Regions from separate parts of the Homo sapiens genome. Here region 1 is linked to region 2. Evidence: promoter capture Hi-C in human tissues and cell types (Jung and others, 2019). All regions are on one chromosome and are shown on one strand. The core of a region is centred on a gene start or on the middle of the fragment in contact, and the rest is flanking DNA. Distances in the headings are between cores, read along the strand shown.

Region 1 (5,687 bases), core at 511-3,010, 83 kb before region 2:
TTGCCCACTCCACATGCTCTATTCTCATCTCCCTCCATGTCCCCCTTGCTCAATCTTAGGATGGCCAAATTTAGCCAATAAAAATATAAGATGCAGGCCGGGCGTGGTGGCTCACGCCTGGAATCCCAGCACTTTGGGAGGCAGGAGGGTCACCTGAGCCCAGGAGTTCAAGACCAGCCTGGGAAACACAGCAAGACCCGTCCCCTACCCCTCGCCCCACACCGCTGTCTCTACAAAAAAAAAAAAAATTTAGAAAATTAACCGGGCATGGTGGAACTCACCTGTGGTCCCAGTTACTTGGGAGGCTGAGGCAGGAGGATTGCTTGAGCCCTGGACGTTGAGGCTGCAGTGAGCTGTAATTGCACCACTGCACTCCAGCCTGGGCAACAGAGCAAGACGCTGTCTCAAAAAATAAAATAAAAATAGGCCAGGTGCAGTCGGTCACACCTATAATCCCAGCACTTTGGGAGGCCAAGTTGGGTGGATTACCTGAGGTCAGGAGTTCAAGACCAGCCTAGCCAACATGGTGAAACCCCGTCTCTACTGAAAATACAAAAATTAGCCAGGTGTGGTGGCAGGTACCTGTGATCCCAGCTACTTGGGAGGCTGAGGCAGGAGAATCGCTTGAACCCAGGAAGCAGAGGTTGCAGTGAGCCAAAATTGCACCACTGCACTCTAGCCTGGACAACAAGAGTGAAACACTCCATCTCAAAAAATAAGAATAAAAGAAGAACTCATCCAGGTGCTGGGAGGGTGGTGCGCCCCAACTCCATGGGGACAGAAGCTGCTATGCTCACCCTATGCATCTCTTCATTAAAATATCCTTAGTCATAAACCTGCAAATGTAACTGTTTCCCTGAGTTCTGTGAGCCGCTCTAGCAAATAAATCGAACCCCAAGAGGGGGTCGTGGAAACCCTAACTTGAAGCTGGCCAGTCAGAAGTTCCGGAGACCCAGACATGCGGCTGGGGAGGGAGGGAGCAGTGTGTGGGACTGAACCCTCAACCTGTGGGATCTGAGGCCGTCTTTGGGTAGATGGTGTCAGAAATGAGTTGGAGGACACCCAGCTGGTGTCTGCTGCCTGGTCTGTGGAAGAACCCGCCCCCTGCGTTTGATCACAGTCTATGTTGATGATTGTTGTTGTGGTGTTTCGTTTTGTTTTGTTTTTTGAGATAGAGTCTTGCTCTGTTGCCCAGGCTGGAGTGCAGTGGTGCGATCTCGGCTCACAGCAACCTCTGCCTCCCGGGTTCAAGGGATTCTCCTGCCTCAGCCTCCCGAGTACCTGGGATTACAGGCACCTGCCACCACACCTGGCTAATTTTTGTATTTTTAGAAGAGATGGGTTTTCACCATGTTGGCCAGGCTGGTCTCCAACTCCTGGCCTCAAGTGATCCGCCTGCCTCGGCCTCCCAAAGTGCTGGGATTACAGGTGTGAGCCACCGCACCTGGCCGTTGTGGTGTGAGAGCAGAGAAAAAACACAGTTTCAAAGGTTTTCCCTTCACAGGGGGTCAATGTTTCTTTCATGGTTCTCAGTTGCCATCAACAGAAACCACTTCTGGCTGATTTGAGCAACAAAGGAGTTTAATAAATAAATACTTATTGATGAATGAATCCAGAGCCCCATGGATCCCCCAGCCTTCCCATGAGCTCTCCCCGTGGCCCTGCTTCCCTTTCTGGGACCACCCGCTACCTCCCAACCCCAGCCTGCAGCGTAGGCATCTGTGCGGCCTTTGAAAGCCTTGTGGCGGGGGACGTGGTGGCTCACGCCTATAATCCCAACACTTTGGAAGGTCAAGGCTGGCTGATTGCTTGAGTCCAGGAGTTGGAGGCCAGCCTGGGCACCATAACAAGACCCCATCTCTACAAAAAATACAAAAATTAGCTGGGTATGGTGGCACGCCTAGTAGTTCCAGAAACTCGGGAGGCTGAAGTGGGAGGATCATTTGAGCCTGGGGAGGCCAAGGCTGCAGTGAGCCATGATTGCACCACTGCACTCCAACCTGGGCGGCACAGTGAGACCCTGTCTCAAAAAAAAAAAAAAAAAAAAAGACCTTGCTCAGCTTCGCCTCTCAGAAGCTTCAGGGTCTCTGGCCCTGCAACCTGCAACTTCCTGTGCACGTCACACAGGGCAGGTGTTGCAACCAGTCCTGCGTGCCTGTCTGCTGCGCACCCAGCCACGGGGAGCTCCCGAGGGCTGAGCCTTTATCTGAGTCACCTAAGTCACTGTCATTCCTACTGATAAGCATCCCTCAGTGCCAGGCCCTGTGCTAAGCTTACCTTTATTTCTCATTCCTTCTTTCTTCCACGTAAACCATGTTTATTGAGCACCTACTATATACCAGTGACCAAGGTAACAGCAGGGGACAGAACTGGCAAAAAACAAACAAACAAAAAAACCCTGTTGTCCAGGGAGCTCACATTCTCTTGGGGGAGAAAAGGAAAAAAATAATCAAACATGTATGTATATAGTGGGTCACAAGATCTAAATGCTTTTTTTTTTTTTTTTTGAGATGGAATCTTGCTCTGTCACCCAGGCTGGAGTGCAGGTGGTGCTATCTTGAATCACTGCAACCTCTGCCTCCCAGGTTCAAGCAATTCTCCTGCCTCAGCTTCCCAAGTAGCTGGGATTACAGGTGTGCATGACCACACCCAGCTAAATTTGTATTTTTACTAGAGACGGGGTTTCACCATGTTGGCCAGCCCGATGACCTCCGGTTGGTCTTGATCTCCTTGACCTCAGGTGACCCGCCCACCTTGGCCTCCCAAAGTGCTGGGATTATAGGCATGAACCATCGCTCCCAGCCCTCAGTGTCTTGAAGGAATATAAAGCAGAGAAGGGAGATGGGAGGTGTATGGAGGGTAAAGCTGTTTTATTTTATTATTAATTATTACTTTTTTAAGAATTTATTTAATTTTTTTTTTACTTTTGAGACAGGATATCACTCTGTCATCCAGGCTGGCGTGCAGTGGTGCGATCTTGGCTCATTGCAGCCTCAACTTCCCGGACTCCAGCGATTTTCCCACCTCAGCCTCCTGAGTAGCTGGACCACAGGTGCACATCACCACGCCCAGCTAATTGTATTTTTGCTAGAGACGGAGTTTCACCATGTTGGCCAGGCTGGTCTCAAACTCCTGACTTCAAGTGATCCTCCCACCTCGGCCTCCCAAAGTGCTGGGGTTGCAGGTATAAGCCACAGTGCCCAGCCTTAGGTTTTAATTTTTGTTGGGTCCATAGTAAGTGTATGTATTTATGGGGTACATGAGATATTTTGATACAGGCATGGGGTATCCATCCCCTCAAGCATTTATCCTTTGTGTTACAACCCAATTACACTCTTTTGGTTATTTAAAAATGTACAATTATTATTGAGAATAGTCATCTTGTTGTGTGATCAAATAGTAGGTCTTATTCATTCTTTTTTTTTTAGCCCATTAACAAAACCGAGGCTGGGTGCAGTGGCTCACGCCTGTAATCCCAGCATTTTGGAAGGCCGAGGCGGGCGGATCATTTGAGATCAGGAGTTCGAGACCAGCATGGCCAACATGGTGAAACCCTGTCTCTGCTAAAAATATAAAAATTAGTCAGGTGTGGTGGCGGGTGCCTGTAATCCCAGATACTCAGGAGGCTGAGGCAGGAGAATTGCTTGAACCCAGGAGGCAGAGTTTGCAGTGAGCCGGTATCTCACCCTTACATTCCAGCATGGGCGAAAAAGCAAGACTCCGTCTCAAAAAACAAAAACAAAAACAAAAAAAGCCCATCCCCTGCAGCCTCCCAGCACCCTTCCCAGCCTCTGGTCACCATCCTTCTAACTCGCCGTGTCCATGACATCGTTTTGATTTTTAGCTCCCACAAATGAGTGAGACCATGCGAGGTTTGTCTTTCTGTGCCTGGCTTATTTCACCGAACCTGATGACCTCCGGTTAGGTGGAGCTGTTTTAAACAAGAGGGTCAGGGAGGGTGGCACTGAGCAAAGGCCTGAGGGGGGGATAAAGGGAGTCATACAGATCCCTGGGGGAACAGTGTCCCCGGCAGAGGGAACTGCCAGTGCAAAAGTGGGTGGGGAGTCCAATGCAGAGGCCAGTGTGGCTGCAGCAGAGTGGGCGAGGGGGGTGATTGGAGGGGGTGAGGACACAGGGGTGACAGGGGCAGATCGTCTGGGGCCTCGTGGACCTGAGACGGAGCCACAGGAGGGCTCTGAGCAGGGGCGGATGTGATCTGATGCAGGTGTTCACAGGTGCCTTTGGTTGTGTGTGGGGAACAGACTCCCGGGAAAAGGAGGGAGCAGGAAGTCCAAGGAGTCTGTAGGAAATGAGTGTAGACAGGACCAGGGTGGGGGCTTTGGGGGTGCCAAAAGCGTAGAGAGTCTAGATCGAGCTGGGCGCAGTGGCTCACACCTGTAATTCTAGCACTTTGAGAGACCAAGGCAGGTGGATCACCTGAAGTCATGAGTTTGAGACCAGCCTGGCCAACACTGTGAAACCCCATGTTTACTAAAAATACAAAAATTAGCCAGGTGTGGTGGCAGGCTCCTGTAATCCCAGCTACTTGGGAGGCTGAGGCAGGAGAATTGCTTGAACCCAGGAGGCAGAGTTTGCAGTGAGCCGAGATCACACCACTGCACTCCAGCCTGGGCGAGAAGAGTGAAACTCCATGTCAAAAAAAAAAAGAGTCTAGATCGATTTCGAAGGCAAGGCAAACAGGATTTTCCAGATACTTGGATGTGGAGCATGAGAAAAAGAGGAATCAATATCGATCCCAAGGCTTTCAATCTCATTTAACCCCAAGGCAGCCTCACAGAGTATTATCATTCTTGGGTTATAGATGAAGAAACAGAGATTCAGAGAGGGTTGCCGACTTGCCCATGGTCACACAGGAATTGGTGGGGCTGGGATTTGAACCAGTTTCTGTTTGACTCCAGTGTCTGACCTCTGCCCTCTGTGGAGGTTGCCACCTCCCGGCATGTCCACAGCCTCACCCAGCCCGGGACAGGGCATGCCAGACCCACACAGGGCACCAGTTCAGTCGGCGGCCACAGCACTCCATGACCGTCCAGCTTGTGACCTCACCGTCTTGGCCCGGCCCGCCACGGGATTCTCTTACTGCTCATCACCTGTGTTGAGTAACCGTGTTTCCCTGCCTGCCTGCGAGCTCCCAGAGGGCATGACTGTAGCTGATTCATCGCTGTCCCTGGCATTGCCCGGCTGGAGCCTGGCATGTGGTGGCCTTCATTAAGGCAATCAATATTTATTAAGTATCTATCTTGTGCTGGGCAATGCTGGGACGCAGCTCTGGGCCCCATCCCTCTGAGGTTGAAGTCCAGTGGGGGAGTCAGAGAGACCCATCCCCAAACGGTGATGGCCTAGAATGCGCAGGACTGGAACTAGCGGGGAGCCCAGAGTCCCCAATCCAGCCCAAGAAGGGGCCTGGGAGGATTTGGCAGAGGCGTTGAACTCATGGTCACCACCCTCACAGACTTAGCTTTACGGGTGTAAACAGCCAATGAACAAGTTAACCAATCAAGGAAAGAATTGCAGATCGAAGTAAAACGGGGGTGGGGCAGGCAGCAACACAGGCTACTTTAGCTGGGGTCAGCAGGGAAGGCCTCTGAGGAGGGGACACCGAGTCTGAGACCTGAGGTTGAGAAGGCGCCAGCCTGGGATGAGCTGGGGAGAGGGCACACAGGGGG
Region 2 (5,069 bases), core at 821-3,320:
AAGTGATTCTCATGCCTCAGCTTCCCGAGTAGCTGGGATCACAGGCATGCGCCACCATGCCCGGCTAATTTTTGTATTTTCAGTAGAGACGGAGTTTCGCCATTTTGGCCAGGCTGGTCTCACACTCCTGACCTCAAGTGATCCGCCTGCCTCAGCCTCCCAAAGTTCTGGGATTACAGGCGTGAGCCATCATGCCCGGCCTGGAGGTTTTATATTTAATTATTTCCCTGATACTACGTAATTTGCTCATTATGCCAACTGTTTATCATGTCTCTCCCTCTAGAAGGTAAGTTCTTTGTGGGGAAGAATCCATGTCTGGTTTTGTTTGTTGATGTCTTAAACTATGTATACAGCTCACGTTATGTCGAAGCCAAATAAAATATAGAGATATAGAGACAAATCTCTCGATTTAAAATGTTTTGTTGCGGTGGCTCATGCCTGCGATCCCAGCACTTTGGGAGGCTGAGGCGGGCAGATCACCTGAGGTCGGGAGTTTGAGACCATCCTGGCCAACATGGTGAAACCCCGTCTCTACTAAAAATACAAAAATTAGCTGGGCATGGTGGCATGCGCCTGTAATCCCAGCTACTCGGGAGGCTGAGGCAGGAGAATCGCTTGAACCCATGAGGCGGAGGTTGCAGTGAGACGAGATTGCATCACTGCCCTCCAGCCTGGGCGACAGAGCGAGACTCTGTCTCAAAAAAATAATAAAATGTTTTATTTGGGAAGCAAGAATTGACATTCGAGGCATCCACACAGACCAGGCGGTCTTCAGAACTTTCAAAGAACAAAGAGGTTAGAGGTTTTTATAAGAAACAGAAATGTTAGGTATTGTTTTGCAAGAAAGTTCATTGACACTAGCAACGTTCTGGGGAGCTGGCAAGTTCTGACTGGTAAGTGACAGCAGAGGGAAAAACTAGTCTTAGAGTCACGGCAGGTTTTTTCAGTACCAGTTAGACTGCTTCCAGGTTACAACAGGCAGTTTTAACAGCCAGGCTTGCAGAGAATCACTTTCTTGGAGCAATGGTATCTGCCCTAAGTGTTTTCCCCCCGGCCTCTCAACTTTGTTTTAGTTGGATATGACAAGAAGGATCCAATTCACATGATCAACTTTCACAATTTTTTTTTTCTGTTTGTTTTTTGAGACGGAGTCTCACTCACTCTTTTGCACAGGCTGGAGTGCAGTGGTGCAATCTCTGCTCACTGCAACCTCCCCCTCCCGGATTCAAGCAATTCTCCTGCCTAAGCCTCCAAATTAGCTGGGATTACAGGCGCGTGCTACCACGCCCAGCTAATTTTTGTATTTTTAGTAGAGACGGGGTTTCACCATGTTGGCCAGGCTGGTCTCGAACTTCTGACCTCAAGCGATCCGCCTGCCTTGGCCTCCCAAAGTGCTGGGATTACGGGCATGAGTCACCGCACCCAGCCACAATTGTATTTTTATTGGACAGAGCTGATCTAGAGGTTAAAATGAGGAATTCCGGAGCTAGGCTGGCTGGATTCAAATCCCTACTAGCTGGTGATCATAGACAAGCCACTTGGCCTCTGCTGGTCTCAGTTTTTTCACCTGTGAAGTAAAGGGCATAACAGCACCTACTTCATGGGGTTGCCACCCTGGCTGGCAGTAAAACCGTCCATAAAAGTTGGCTGGTGTTACTATTGGTTGCATTAATTTTTAGCAGCCGGAGCCTGTTTTCTCCTGTGAAATGAAGATAACCACGCCCGACCTTAAAGGTGATGGAAATTTTTTAACACGTTAACGGATACGAGGCCTCCCACTCAGAAGCCTGACCAAAATAACAATGGTTGCTCAGAGCCAGACGTCTCATTGCTACTAACGAATTAGGGACACTTCAAGGGGCCGGCTGGAGGGGACGGCTGTGAGCAGCAGGCCTTGGCTCCTGGCTGCACCTGGCCCCGTCGCGGGAAGCAGGTTGGGTTTGGAGAGCGGGAGGGAGCAGGCGGGAGGGGCTGGCGAGTAAGAAAGAGGATGCAGGGGTGGGTGAAGCTGGCTAGTAAGAGGGGAGGGGCCGGCGAGTAAAAAGGACGCAGAGGGGCGTGGGGAGCTTGCGGCACAGCTAGGGCATCCCGGCGAGGAGCGCCGCCAGGCCCCGGGGTAGGACTTGGGGTGCGGTGTCGGTGCGGCCGCCGAGGGGGGCTGATTGCATGCAATTCGGGGCATACACACAGACCGCGGGGTCTCCGGGATATCGGGGCTATCAAGGACGGGCTGGGGGATGGGGACTTGGGGACGGGGCCCAGGGATGGTGAAGACGGGGGTGCGGCTGGCAGAATCAGGGCAGGCAGAGGCTGCGCGCCGCGGAGGCTGCTGGTCCCTGACGCCTTGACCCTTCCTCTCCCGCAGCCACAGCCGGGCCTGGCGGGGGGACCATGGGCGCCTCGGTCTCCAGGGGCCGGGCCGCCCGGGTCCCCGCGCCGGAGCCGGAACCCGAAGAGGCGCTGGACCTGAGCCAACTACCCCCAGAGCTGCTTCTGGTGGTGCTGAGCCACGTCCCCCCGCGCACGCTGCTCGGGCGCTGCCGCCAAGTGTGCCGGGGCTGGCGAGCCCTGGTGGACGGCCAGGCCCTGTGGCTGCTGATCCTGGCCCGCGACCACGGCGCCACCGGCCGCGCGCTGCTGCACCTCGCCCGCAGCTGCCAGTCTCCCGCCCGTAACGCCAGGCCTTGCCCCCTGGGCCGCTTCTGCGCGCGCAGACCCATCGGACGCAACCTTATTCGCAACCCCTGCGGCCAAGGTGGGATCTCGGAAGAGGAAGTCCAGGATGCTGGGCCACAGTGGGAGCGGTAGCGGGGCCGGAGGGGCGGGGCCGCACTGGGACCGGTACTAGGGGCCGCAGGGGCAGGGCCGCAGTGGGACCGGTGGGAGGAGTCGGAGAGGCGGGGCAGCATTGGGAGCCGGTGTGAGGTGCCGGAGGGGCGGGGCAGCATTGGGAGCCGGTGGGAGGTGTCGGAGGGACGAGGCAGCATTGGCACGCAGGGTGCAGGGCTGACTGGGCAGGGCTTCACCGTTTGCCTGTGGGAGGGGTGGGAGTGGGGCAGTTCTGGGAGCCCGAGAGAGGGGTTGGAGGGGCAGGGCTTTGCTGCAAATCAGTGAGAAGGGCCAGAGGAGCGGGGCTTTGCCCTGAGCTGGTGGGAGGGGAAGGGGGCGGGGCCTCGGTGGGAAGGGTCAGGTGAGTGAGCTGCACTGTGAGCACGTGGGAGGGGCTAGGGGCGGGGTCTCACTAGGAACCAACAGGCGGGCGACTGGAACTTGGGCACAAGCCTTTTTTATTTCACAGAAGGCCTCCGAAAGTGGATGGTGCAACACGGTGGGGACGGCTGGGTGGTGGAGGAAAACAGGACAACCGTGCCTGGGGCCCCTTCTCAGACGTGCTTCGTGACTTCATTCAGGTGAATGCCCCTGCTATCCAAAGGTCCGGCCCCTTGTTGAGAAAGGCCTGCCTGTTCTCATTACCCTGTCTCCTGCATTCCCAGCTGGTGTTGCAAGAAGCAGGTCTTGGACCTAGAGGAGGAGGGTCTGTGGCCAGAACTGCTGGATAGTGGCAGGATTGAGATTTGTGTCTCTGACTGGTGAGTGTGACGATTAAAATAGCCCCTTGCTAAGCACTGACTGCATGTGACATGGCCTTTTTATGGGTGACTTAATTTAGGCCTCCTAACCCCTCCTTACAGATAAAAAATCTGAAGTTCAGGCCAGCCATGGTGGCTCACACCTATAATCCCAGCACTTTGGGGGGTCGAGGCAGGCAGATCACTTGAGGTCAGGAGTTCGAGACCAGCCCAACCAGCATGGCAAAACCTCGTCTCTACTAAAAATACAAAAAAAAAATTAGCCGGGCCTGGTAGTGCACACCTGTAGTCCCACATACTTGGGAGGCTGAGGCAGGAGAATCACTTGAACCCAGGAGGTGGAGGTTGTACCACTACACTCCAGCCTGGACGACAGAGTGAGACTCAGTCCTGGAAAAAAAAAAGAAAGAAAAGAAACTGAAGTTCAGGGAGGTGAAGTGAAAAACACACTCACAGTTCTAGTAATTAGCAGAGTACACACTTTCTGCTCATGCCCAAAAGGATGTGGATTGGAAGACAGAAGATGAGATCCAGTACAGAGACCTTTGGCCCAGCTCAGTCTTGTCTGTGAATGAATGAGATGCTCCTTGCCTTAGGAGGAGAAAACAGCATAGTTAGCCAAGAGCTTAGGTTCTGGAGCCAGACCTCCCAGATTCAAACCCTAGCTCTGTGGCTTTGTAGCCTTGGGCAAGTCACAGCATACCTCTGTTTCCCCTGTTTACAAGATAGGGCTCTTGCAATGACAATTATTATATGGCAAACACATAGCAAGTACTTTATGTGAGCACCTTTTTTTGAACCTTGATCCTGTGGGAAGGTGTATTTCAAGCCCTCAGATCATTCAGAGCTTCTCAGGAAATTGAGAGGTTGGGAAAGGGGAGATGGCAGTCTGGGCACGGTGGCTCATGCCTGTAATCCCAGCACTCTGGGAGGCCGAGGTGGGCAGATCTCTTGAGCTAAGGAGTTCGAGACCAGCCTGGCCAGCATGGCAAAACCCATCTCTACTAAAAATACAAAAAATTAGCTGGGCGTCATGGTAAGTGTCTGTAGTCCCAGCTACTCAGGAGGCTGAGGCAGGAGAATCACTTGAACCCGGGAAGTGGAGGTTGCAGTGAGCTGAGATGGCACCACTGCACTCCAGCCTGGGCAACAGAGCGAGACTCCATCAAAAAAAGAAAGGGGAGATGACTTGCCCTGGTCTGGTCACACAGCCTGGGCTTGGCAGAACCTGGCATAAGGCTCAGAGTCAGATTCTGACTCCAGAGCTTGTCCTCTGTAGTGATGGTCTTGAAACTGGGGTGCATGAAGACTTTCCAGGGGATATATGACCCAGATGGTTTTATGGGAGTCAAATTCCAGGTCCACTACAGCCATGAGCCCCCTATTACACAATTAATCTGCTATAGGTTACATCTGTGTGGGAAGTATCATATGATTCTCGTTCCCCAATCTCTTTCTCAGTGTCCCCCTTCTCTAGTT

Evidence for each region. The method cuts DNA at HindIII sites, captures the fragments that hold promoters and counts their contacts. A contact is called where the count stands out against the background at its distance.
Region 1: a fragment that was not itself captured here is called in contact with the fragment with the promoter of FBXO27 in region 2 in 2 of the 25 tissues and cell types used here (H1 embryonic stem cells and mesendoderm cells).

Annotation. Positions count from the first base shown.
Region 1 is chr19:39,111,917-39,117,603 of GRCh38, reverse strand. No RefSeq gene overlaps it. Among named protein-coding and RNA genes, the nearest start is that of PAK4, 11 kb to the left of the region's middle. The HindIII fragment of the contact is 4,790 bases long and covers 1-4,155 here.
Region 2 is chr19:39,029,550-39,034,618 of GRCh38, reverse strand. FBXO27 (F-box protein 27) reads left to right here and starts at 2,070. Exons shown (of 6, transcript NM_178820.5): 1 at 2,070-2,116; 2 at 2,366-2,755; 3 at 3,299-3,410; 4 at 3,495-3,590. The coding sequence starts at 2,392. RefSeq lists silencers at 2,292-2,361, 2,422-2,571, 2,772-2,851, 3,002-3,241, 3,091-3,273 and enhancers at 2,183-2,975, 3,382-3,491. The HindIII fragment of the contact is 13,585 bases long and covers 1-3,554 here.